Linked DNA regions of Homo sapiens: region 1 is linked to region 2. Evidence: promoter capture Hi-C in human tissues and cell types (Jung and others, 2019). All regions are on one chromosome and are shown on one strand. The core of a region is centred on a gene start or on the middle of the fragment in contact, and the rest is flanking DNA. Distances in the headings are between cores, read along the strand shown. Region 1 overlaps SGPP1 (sphingosine-1-phosphate phosphatase 1). Region 2 holds the start of MTHFD1 (methylenetetrahydrofolate dehydrogenase, cyclohydrolase and formyltetrahydrofolate synthetase 1).

Region 1 (4,267 bases), core at 132-2,631, 670 kb before region 2:
GAATACAATCATATATTTCAAAAATAATATTACTGCAAGCATACCTTAAAAATCACACACAAAGTGTGATTTAAAATGAATTTTCTATATAAGCTGCTGAGTCAGTCTGAGCCCCTGACACTTACTGGCTAGGTTACTTTGCTTAAGTTACATAATATAACCTCCCTGTACCTCAGTTTCCTCATCTGTAAACCCATGCTAGTAATAGGAACATTGGGGTATTATAGAAGAGTAAATGAGATAAAAGACATTTCAAACAATGTCTGATTCATAGTAAGTGCTTAAAAATATATATTAACAGCTGGGCGCAGTGGCTCATGCCTGTAATCCCAACACTTTAGGAGTCCAAGGTGGGCAGATCACAAGGTCAGGAGTTAGAGGCTAGCCTGACCAACATGGTGAAACCCTGTCTCTATTGAAAAAAAAAAAAAAAAAAAATTAGCCGGGCGTGGTGGGGCGTGCCTGTAATCCCAGCTACTCAGGAGGCTGAAGTAGGAGAACTACTTGAACCCAGGAGGCAGAGGTTGCAGTGAGCCAATATCGCACCACTGCACTCCAGCCTGGGCAACAGAGTGAGACTCCATCTCAAAAAATAAAAAATAAAAAATAAAAATATTAACAATGCTATAACATTATTATTATAAAATATAATTATTATAATAAAAAGTAGTAAAAGCACACAAAATGAAAGACTAGTTGGCAATGAGTTGTCTATAAAGTAAGTGCTACAGCTAATTTTTAGCAGGGCAAGGTGGCTGACGCCTGTAATACCAGCACTTTGGGAGGCCGAGGTGGGAGGATCACTTGAGCTCAGGAGTTCAAGACCAGCCTAAGCAACATGGCAAAACCCCGTCTCTATAACAAACAAACAAACAAACAAAATTAGCTGGTGGTAGTGTGTGCCTGTGGTCCCAGCTACTTGGGAGGCTGAGGTGGGAGGATCACTTAAGCCTGGGAGGTCGAGGCTGCAGTGAGCCGGAATCGTGCCACTGTACTCCAGTCTGAGCGACAGAGTAAGACCCTGTCTCAAAAAAAAAAAAAAAAAATTAATCTAAAACCTTCTAATTAAATAAAGTATACAGTTAAAACTGATTACATTCCATATTATTTAAAAATTAAATTAATTCAAGTCAAACAGAGCTTTAAAAATTAAGAAATTTTATTTTTGAAAAGAACATGCAAACATAAATGGAAAAGGAACGTCATATTGTTTATCTTATTCTTCAAAGGACTATTTATTGTCTTTATATCAGATGCTCCTTATTTCTTAATTTTTTTTCCAATTCAGGCTACAAAAAATTCCAATGAATAATATGAGAGCAATAACCATTATCCTAGGCAATGGATCTCAAGTTATTTAATCCTTGGGAAAAGGTCATAACATTTTCTATCCTCCATCACCATAAAATTTATATACAAAACTCTTTAAGTAATTACTTGGAGCTATACTATTCCAATCTCTCCTTTGTCTTATAACGTACCTTAAAAAAATTCAGGCAGGGTGCAGTGACTCACGTCTGTAATCCCAGCACTTTGGGAGGCTGAGGGGAGTGGATCACGAGGTCAAGAGATCGAGACCATCCTGGCCAACATGGTGAAACCCCGTCTCTACTAAAAATACAAACATTAGCCGGGGGTGGTGGTGTGCGCCTGTAGTCCCAGCTACTGAGGAGGCTGAGGCAGGAGAATCGCTTGAACCGGGGAGGCAGAGTTTGCAGTGAGACAAGATCACACCACCACACTCCAGCCTGGGTGACAAAGAGAGATTTCGTCTCAAAAAAAAAAAAAATTCAAAGACTGGAATTTCAAAGAAGCTGAGACAGCAATCTTGAAGAAATACAACTAACTCCTCACTCATCTAATGGGTCAGAATCTCTGGGAAACTTACCCTGGGAAATGTAGAAATCTGCATTTTTAAACAACCCCGAGTTTGTACGCTGTCTTTTTTTTTTGAGATAGGGTCTTGCCCTGTCATCTAGGCTGAAGTGCAGTGGTGCAATCACACCTCACTGCAGCCTCAACCTCCCAGGCTCAAGTGATGCTCCCACCTCAGCCTCCCTAGTAGCTAGAACTACAGGCATGCGCCACCATGCCCAGCTGATTTTTGATTTTTTTTTGCAGAGACAGGGTCTCGCTATATTGCCCAGGCTGGTCTCCAACTCCTGGGCTCAAGGGATCCTTCCGCCTCAGCCTCCCAAAGTGCTAGGTGTACAGGGATGAACCACTACACCTGGCCATATACTGTCATTTTAAGTGTAAGTGAGGAATAATGAAACAGAAAGGATTAATTTAAAATGCTCTGGGTGGTGAATCTTGAGCAAATTTCAATGAGGGCAGAAACATTAAGTAGTAGGTAGTAGTGAAGTAGTAAAGCCAAGACAAAGGAATGGTATAGAACTCAGTTTCAAGAGATGTTTCAGCACGCCAGGCATATATAAGTAACCATACCTGTCCCAAATAAGCAGCTGAGGCACAGCAGATAGGCAAGACTGCCAACCAAAACTTATTAGAAAAACACCAGGCTTTCATTATTTAATTCTTCCCCCAGTTTCTAGGGGAAAGGCTTTCTATATAAGCCTCCAATGCAGTACAATACTAATTCACAGAGTAGAGGACCCAAACAGCTGAAGCAAAGGAAGGTACTTTTGTTTTCAATAGATAACAAGGATCTTTAAAAAAAAAAAAAAAAAAAAAAAAAGGAAAAGGAAAAGGAGGCCAGGCGCGGTGGCTCACGCCTGTAATGCCAGCACTCTGGGAGGCCAGTGGTGGGGAGGCCGATGAGCGGGGGGCGGCTAATTTTTTGTATTTTTTAGTAGAGACGGGGTTTCACTGTGTTAGCCAGGATGGTCTCAATCTCCTGATTGAGATCAGGAGATTGCAGAGAGCCGAGATTGCGCCACAGCACTCCAGCCTGGGCAACAGAGCGAGACTCCGTCTTAAAAAAAAAAAAGGAAAAGCTGGCACTTGGGAGGCCAAGGAGGGAGGATAACTTGAGCCCAGGAGTTCGAGACCAGCCTAGGCAATATAGTGAGACCCCGACTCTTAGGGAAAAAAAAAAGGAAAAAGGTTAAAAAGCCATCTTGTTTTTTGTACTGGATTATTAGTCAAACATTTATAAACACAGAACTTTCATATAAAGGAGGCTTAGGCCAGGCGCAGTGGCTCACGCCTGTAATCCCAGCACTTTGGGAGGCCGAGATGGGTGGATCCCCTGAGGTCAGGAGTTCAAGACCAGCTTGGCCAAAACAGTGAAACCACATCTCTACTAAAAATCCTTAAAAAATTAGCTGGTGTGGTGGTAGGCGCCTGTAATCCCAGCTACTCGGGAGGCTGAGGCAGAGAATTGCTTGAACCTGGGAGGCAGAGGTTGCAGTGAGCCGAGACTGCACCACTGCACTCCAGCCTGGGCAACAGAGCGAGACTCCGTCAGGAGGCTTTCTTTCAGAACAACTAACCGAAAAATCATGCAAATTTAGAGTGAAAAAATGTAAAATAAGAAATTTAAAGCATTACAAGATTAATTTTAATGTAACTGGTCAGTTTGCACATCTGTAAAATGACAGTTTGAAACTAAGTGATTTCTAACATCCGGTCTACTTCAAAGTCTAAAATTCTATGATACGCAAATTTCTTAAACTTTGAGTTAAATATACTAGGTTGTTTAAAAACTAAATCTAAGCTTATTCTGATAATTCAAATAACCCTGAAATGTTAGAATATCAATATCCCATAAACGATTCAGCAGTACTGTTTTCAGACTTCCAGTTAGTATGTGTCCAGAACAAATAAAGAGCAAAAATAGCTATTTTCTCTTACTTTGACTGCTAATACTAATAGCATACAAAATAGCTACTCACTGAGAAGGCATCATAAAAGGCTCTATTGTTACAGAATCCTAAAAGTCTCACGAAAATAAGAGAAACATCATCAGCTAACATCACCAGGCCAAACACAGCTCATTGAAAATCTTAAATTCTGAAATATTTAGATTAAATGAAAACTTCGAGATATTTATCTGTTACGCAAAACAGGTAGCACTGCTTCACAATCTGAACATCACCGTATAGCTCCTTTGGTTAAACAGAAAAAAACTTCCCATGGTACTCTTTCCTCCTAATTCTGCCATTCTTACTATGCACAATGCGTATTTTCCATGTACTGTAAGAGAGATGCACTACACAGAAGTATCCATGGGGACGAAATTTTATCTACACTGAAATTTAATGTGGGATAAGTAAGCTTATCATAATGGAGTTTTACACAGAAT
Region 2 (3,873 bases), core at 888-3,387:
AAGAAAGCTGGAATAGTCAATACCTATTTGATAGTATAAGACAAAAGATTCACTATCTGCAATTTACCAGAAACATTTCCTTCAATTTTCTTCTTAATTTCACTTGTTTAGGTACAACACAATATGAGACAATGTGTTTTAGGGTTATTATTATAATGACATTATATTACTAAGTCTGTGCCTTTAACATATCACTTGTGCAAACTTTAAGAATAGTAACTTTAAGGCCACGCACGGTGGCTCATGCCCATTATCCCAGCATTTTGGGAGGCCAAGGGAGACTAATCCCTTGAGATCTAGACCAGTCTGGTCAACATAGTGAAACCCCAACTCTACCAAAAATAGAAAAATTAGCCGGCGTGGTGGCATGCACCTGTGGTCCAAGCTACTCGGGGGGCTGAGGTGGGAGGATCATTTGAACCCGGGAGGCAGAGGCTACAAAGAGCGGAGATCATGCCACTGCACTCCACCCTGAGCGACATAGCGAGACTCCGTCTCAAAAACAAAAAAACATATATTAGAAATAATTACCAGAAATAGAAAATCACAAGAGATTATCTAATCCCGTATATGGGGCTACTATAAATAACCTCAGAATTTAGAAATAAGAAAAAAATATTAAAAGCCCCAAAATTAATAAAAAATCAGTTTTAGGCCAGGTGCGGTGGCTCACGCCTGTAATCCCAGCACTCTGGGAGGCCGAGGCGGGTGGATCACGAGGTCAGGAGTTCAAGACCAGCCTAGCCAAGATGGTGAAACCCCGTCTCTACTAAAAATACAAAAATTAGCCGGGCGTGGTGGCGGGCTAATTAGGTGGTGCCTGTAATCCCAGCTACTCGGGAGGCTGAGGCAGAGAACTGCTTGAACCCGGGAAGCGGAGGTTGCAGTGAGCCAAAATCGTGCCACTGCACTCCAGCCTGGGCGACAGAATGAGACTCCGTCTCAAACAAACAAACAAAAAAAGTTTTAGATGAGCTCTGCCAGTAGTAAACGGCTTGTAAAAGAAACCCGGTATCTGGTCAAGTCCTAAGTGACCTGAACCACGCATCTTCAGGACTCTACTGGGATGACTGTAACCTGAACGCGGTTCCTAGAGCAGAGCAAGCATATTCCTTGGACTCAGTAACACAAGGGGCCAGTCCTCTCCAGCATCCCAGCTGCCACCGCCCTGTCAGGCTCCCCAGGCAATTGTCCATCTTACTCCTTCTCCAGCGTGGACGCTTAAGGGGAGGGAGCATCCCTCCTCGAGGGTCAACTGGCATGTAGCTTACGAAGACCGCGTGAGTTCTCCAACCCCAGACTTGCTGCGGGGCGGGGACGTGGGGGTGACAAAATCCAGACTACGACCCTCCATGAGCCCTGGCAACCCCGGGGTGACCCCAACACCGATGAGGCCACGCGCGCTCCAGCTCTGACACTCCTTCCAGATCGGCGGGGCCTGAAACAGCGGGCTAAGCTTCACCTACGGCTGAGCGTCAGATTCAGCTGAGGAGATTCTAAAAGCGCTATGCTGGGCCCAGACCCAGGCCCTCCAGAGCAGAACGCGGAGGGGCCCGACCCCAGTCTGGTGGCGTAGGTGTGTGACAAAGTATGAGGGCGCGCCAAGCTCTCCAGTTCCACATCTGCTGTCGAGTCCAGCGCCTGCCACGCTCCCGTGCGGGGACCCGCCCAAAACTCCCTGGAAGCCAGGCGATTCAGACCCCGCCACCGCGTCCCCAGAGACTGGGCGGAAACCGGAGACTCGCCTCCCGAACCCGCGAAACTATCTCCCGCGAGACTGCCCCGCCCCAACCCCGCCCCGCAACTCTACTCCCTGATTGGCTGGAATTACGGCCGGATTCCGGAGTCCTTTCCAGCTCCCTCTTCGGCCGGGTTTCCCGCCGAATACAAAGGCGCACTGTGAACTGGCTCTTTCTTTCCGCCAATCATTTCCGCCAGCCATTCATCACCGATTTTCTTCATCTTCCCCTCCCTCTTCCGTCCCGCAGTCCCCGACCTGTTAGCTCTCGGTTAGTTAAGGGACTCGGGTCCTTCCGAACTGCGCATGCGCCACCGCGTCTGCAGGGGGAGAAGCGGGCAGGGGCGCAGGCGCAGTAGTGTGATCCCCTGGCCAGTCCCTAAGCACGTGGGTTGGGTTGTCCTGCTTGGCTGCGGAGGGAGTGGAACCTCGATATTGGTGGTGTCCATCGTGGGCAGCGGACTAATAAAGGCCATGGCGCCAGCAGAAATCCTGAACGGGAAGGAGATCTCCGCGTAAGCACCTGACATTGTTGTTGAGTGTGGGGCTGTGGACGAGGGCTCTGAGGGTGTGCAGGTCCCCCGGACCCATTTTTTGCGGGAGGGACACTTGTAGCGGAAGAGTTAGGCCCATAACACCTGAAGACCTGCAGCCAAAGAAAGAGAACCCGGGCACAACCTGCGTTTGCAAGTGGACTGCCTAGTGGCTGTAGCCGCTGGCTCCTGTGCTTCGGGGAAAAGTCCTGTGCCGACTATGCTCCCAAACGCGCAGCTGCTGGTGACTTTCTGCCGGGAGAGTGGGTAGTTGCGGCTTCCTGGAGCCCCCCTAGTCAGAACTCAGAAATCCAATCTACTTAATTCCCGTTAATTTGGAGGTGAGTAGATGGAGACTAGTGAGGTGACAAGGCTTGACAAGACTACAAGGCTGATAATGACAGAGGGTCCTTCCAGCTCATAGCTTTTCCCACTATACCATAGTCTTATCATACGCTAAGTGAAATCTAATACATTTTTCCTTTCTCTTCAATCTCGTGCTTCTCTCTAACAGCCATCTCTCTGCCCTGGTCCTAGAGTTACTTGAAACGTAATTTGGCTCCTGAGTCCTGAGAATATTCTGCATTCCACTTGACCTCTGCCTGTTCTACCCTTGCGGGACATCTGAATGCTTAATTAGTGGGTATCGTTGCCAGCTTTACTCCCAGGAAGTAACACTGGCTGCTTTTTGTCTGGGAGGTGACTGGTGAGGAAAAATGAGAGTAGAAGGAAGAGGGAAAAATATATTCCCTCTAGTAGATGAAGGAGGGAAAGATATATTCTGTGTGACCTTACTGAGTTTGCTCTTGGGACCTTTCACATCACCCGTTATGTAAGTAACTGTTGCCAGCCACAGCAGTTACTAAATTGTAATTGTCCTGTAACTCCTAACTTTGTAATAGGTTTTTGAGTGAATTACAAAGTCATCGGTGGTGAAAAGTCCGGGCCCAGTGGCTCATGCCTGTAATCCCAGCACTTTGGGAGGCCGAGGTGGGTGGATCACCTGAGGTCTGGAGTTCAAGACCAGCCTATCCAAAATGGTGAAACCCCATCTCTACTAAAAATACAAAAAATTAGCCGAGTGTGGTGGCAGGCATCTGTAATCCCAGCTACTTGGGAGGCTGAGGCAGGAGAATCACTTGAACCTGGGGGGCAGAGGTTGCAGTGAGCTGAGATGCGCCATTGCACTCCAGCCTGGGCAACAAGAGCGAAACTCCGTCTAAGAAAAAAAAAAAAAGAAATCACAATACTTACTGCTTAGTGCTTTTCAACATGTGGCTTGCTAAACTGTATTTCTGCTTTACTTTCTGTTTTTGTTTGCTTGTATTCAAACTTACTTCCTTTTCCAGTGGCTTTTTGTTTTAATATAAAAATCTTCCTTTTAGAAAGACTGATTGTGAAGAGATAATTTAGTGCATAATAATAGTGCAGATAATTTAGTACAATAATAATGCATCTGGGCCAGTACTGAGAATAGGTGCTCACTGAATATACTTTCGTTAATTGGAGAGCAAATTAAATATGTTTATCAACTCCATAAGGGCAAATACATGTATTGTCTTATTTTTGTCTATATCCTAAACACCTGGAAACCCTGTTTCC

Evidence for each region. The method cuts DNA at HindIII sites, captures the fragments that hold promoters and counts their contacts. A contact is called where the count stands out against the background at its distance.
Region 1: a fragment that was not itself captured here is called in contact with the fragment with the promoter of MTHFD1 in region 2 in 1 of the 25 tissues and cell types used here (dorsolateral prefrontal cortex).

Annotation. Positions count from the first base shown.
Region 1 is chr14:63,721,944-63,726,210 of GRCh38, forward strand. The region is part of intron 1 of SGPP1 (sphingosine-1-phosphate phosphatase 1); the gene reads right to left. Among named protein-coding and RNA genes, the nearest start is that of SGPP1, 4.0 kb to the right of the region's middle. The HindIII fragment of the contact is 5,155 bases long and covers 1-3,959 here.
Region 2 is chr14:64,386,216-64,390,088 of GRCh38, forward strand. MTHFD1 (methylenetetrahydrofolate dehydrogenase, cyclohydrolase and formyltetrahydrofolate synthetase 1) reads left to right here and starts at 2,138. Exons shown (of 28, transcript NM_005956.4): 1 at 2,138-2,253. The coding sequence starts at 2,213. RefSeq lists enhancers at 1,201-1,300, 1,321-1,380, 1,901-1,990. The HindIII fragment of the contact is 7,460 bases long and covers 1-3,873 here.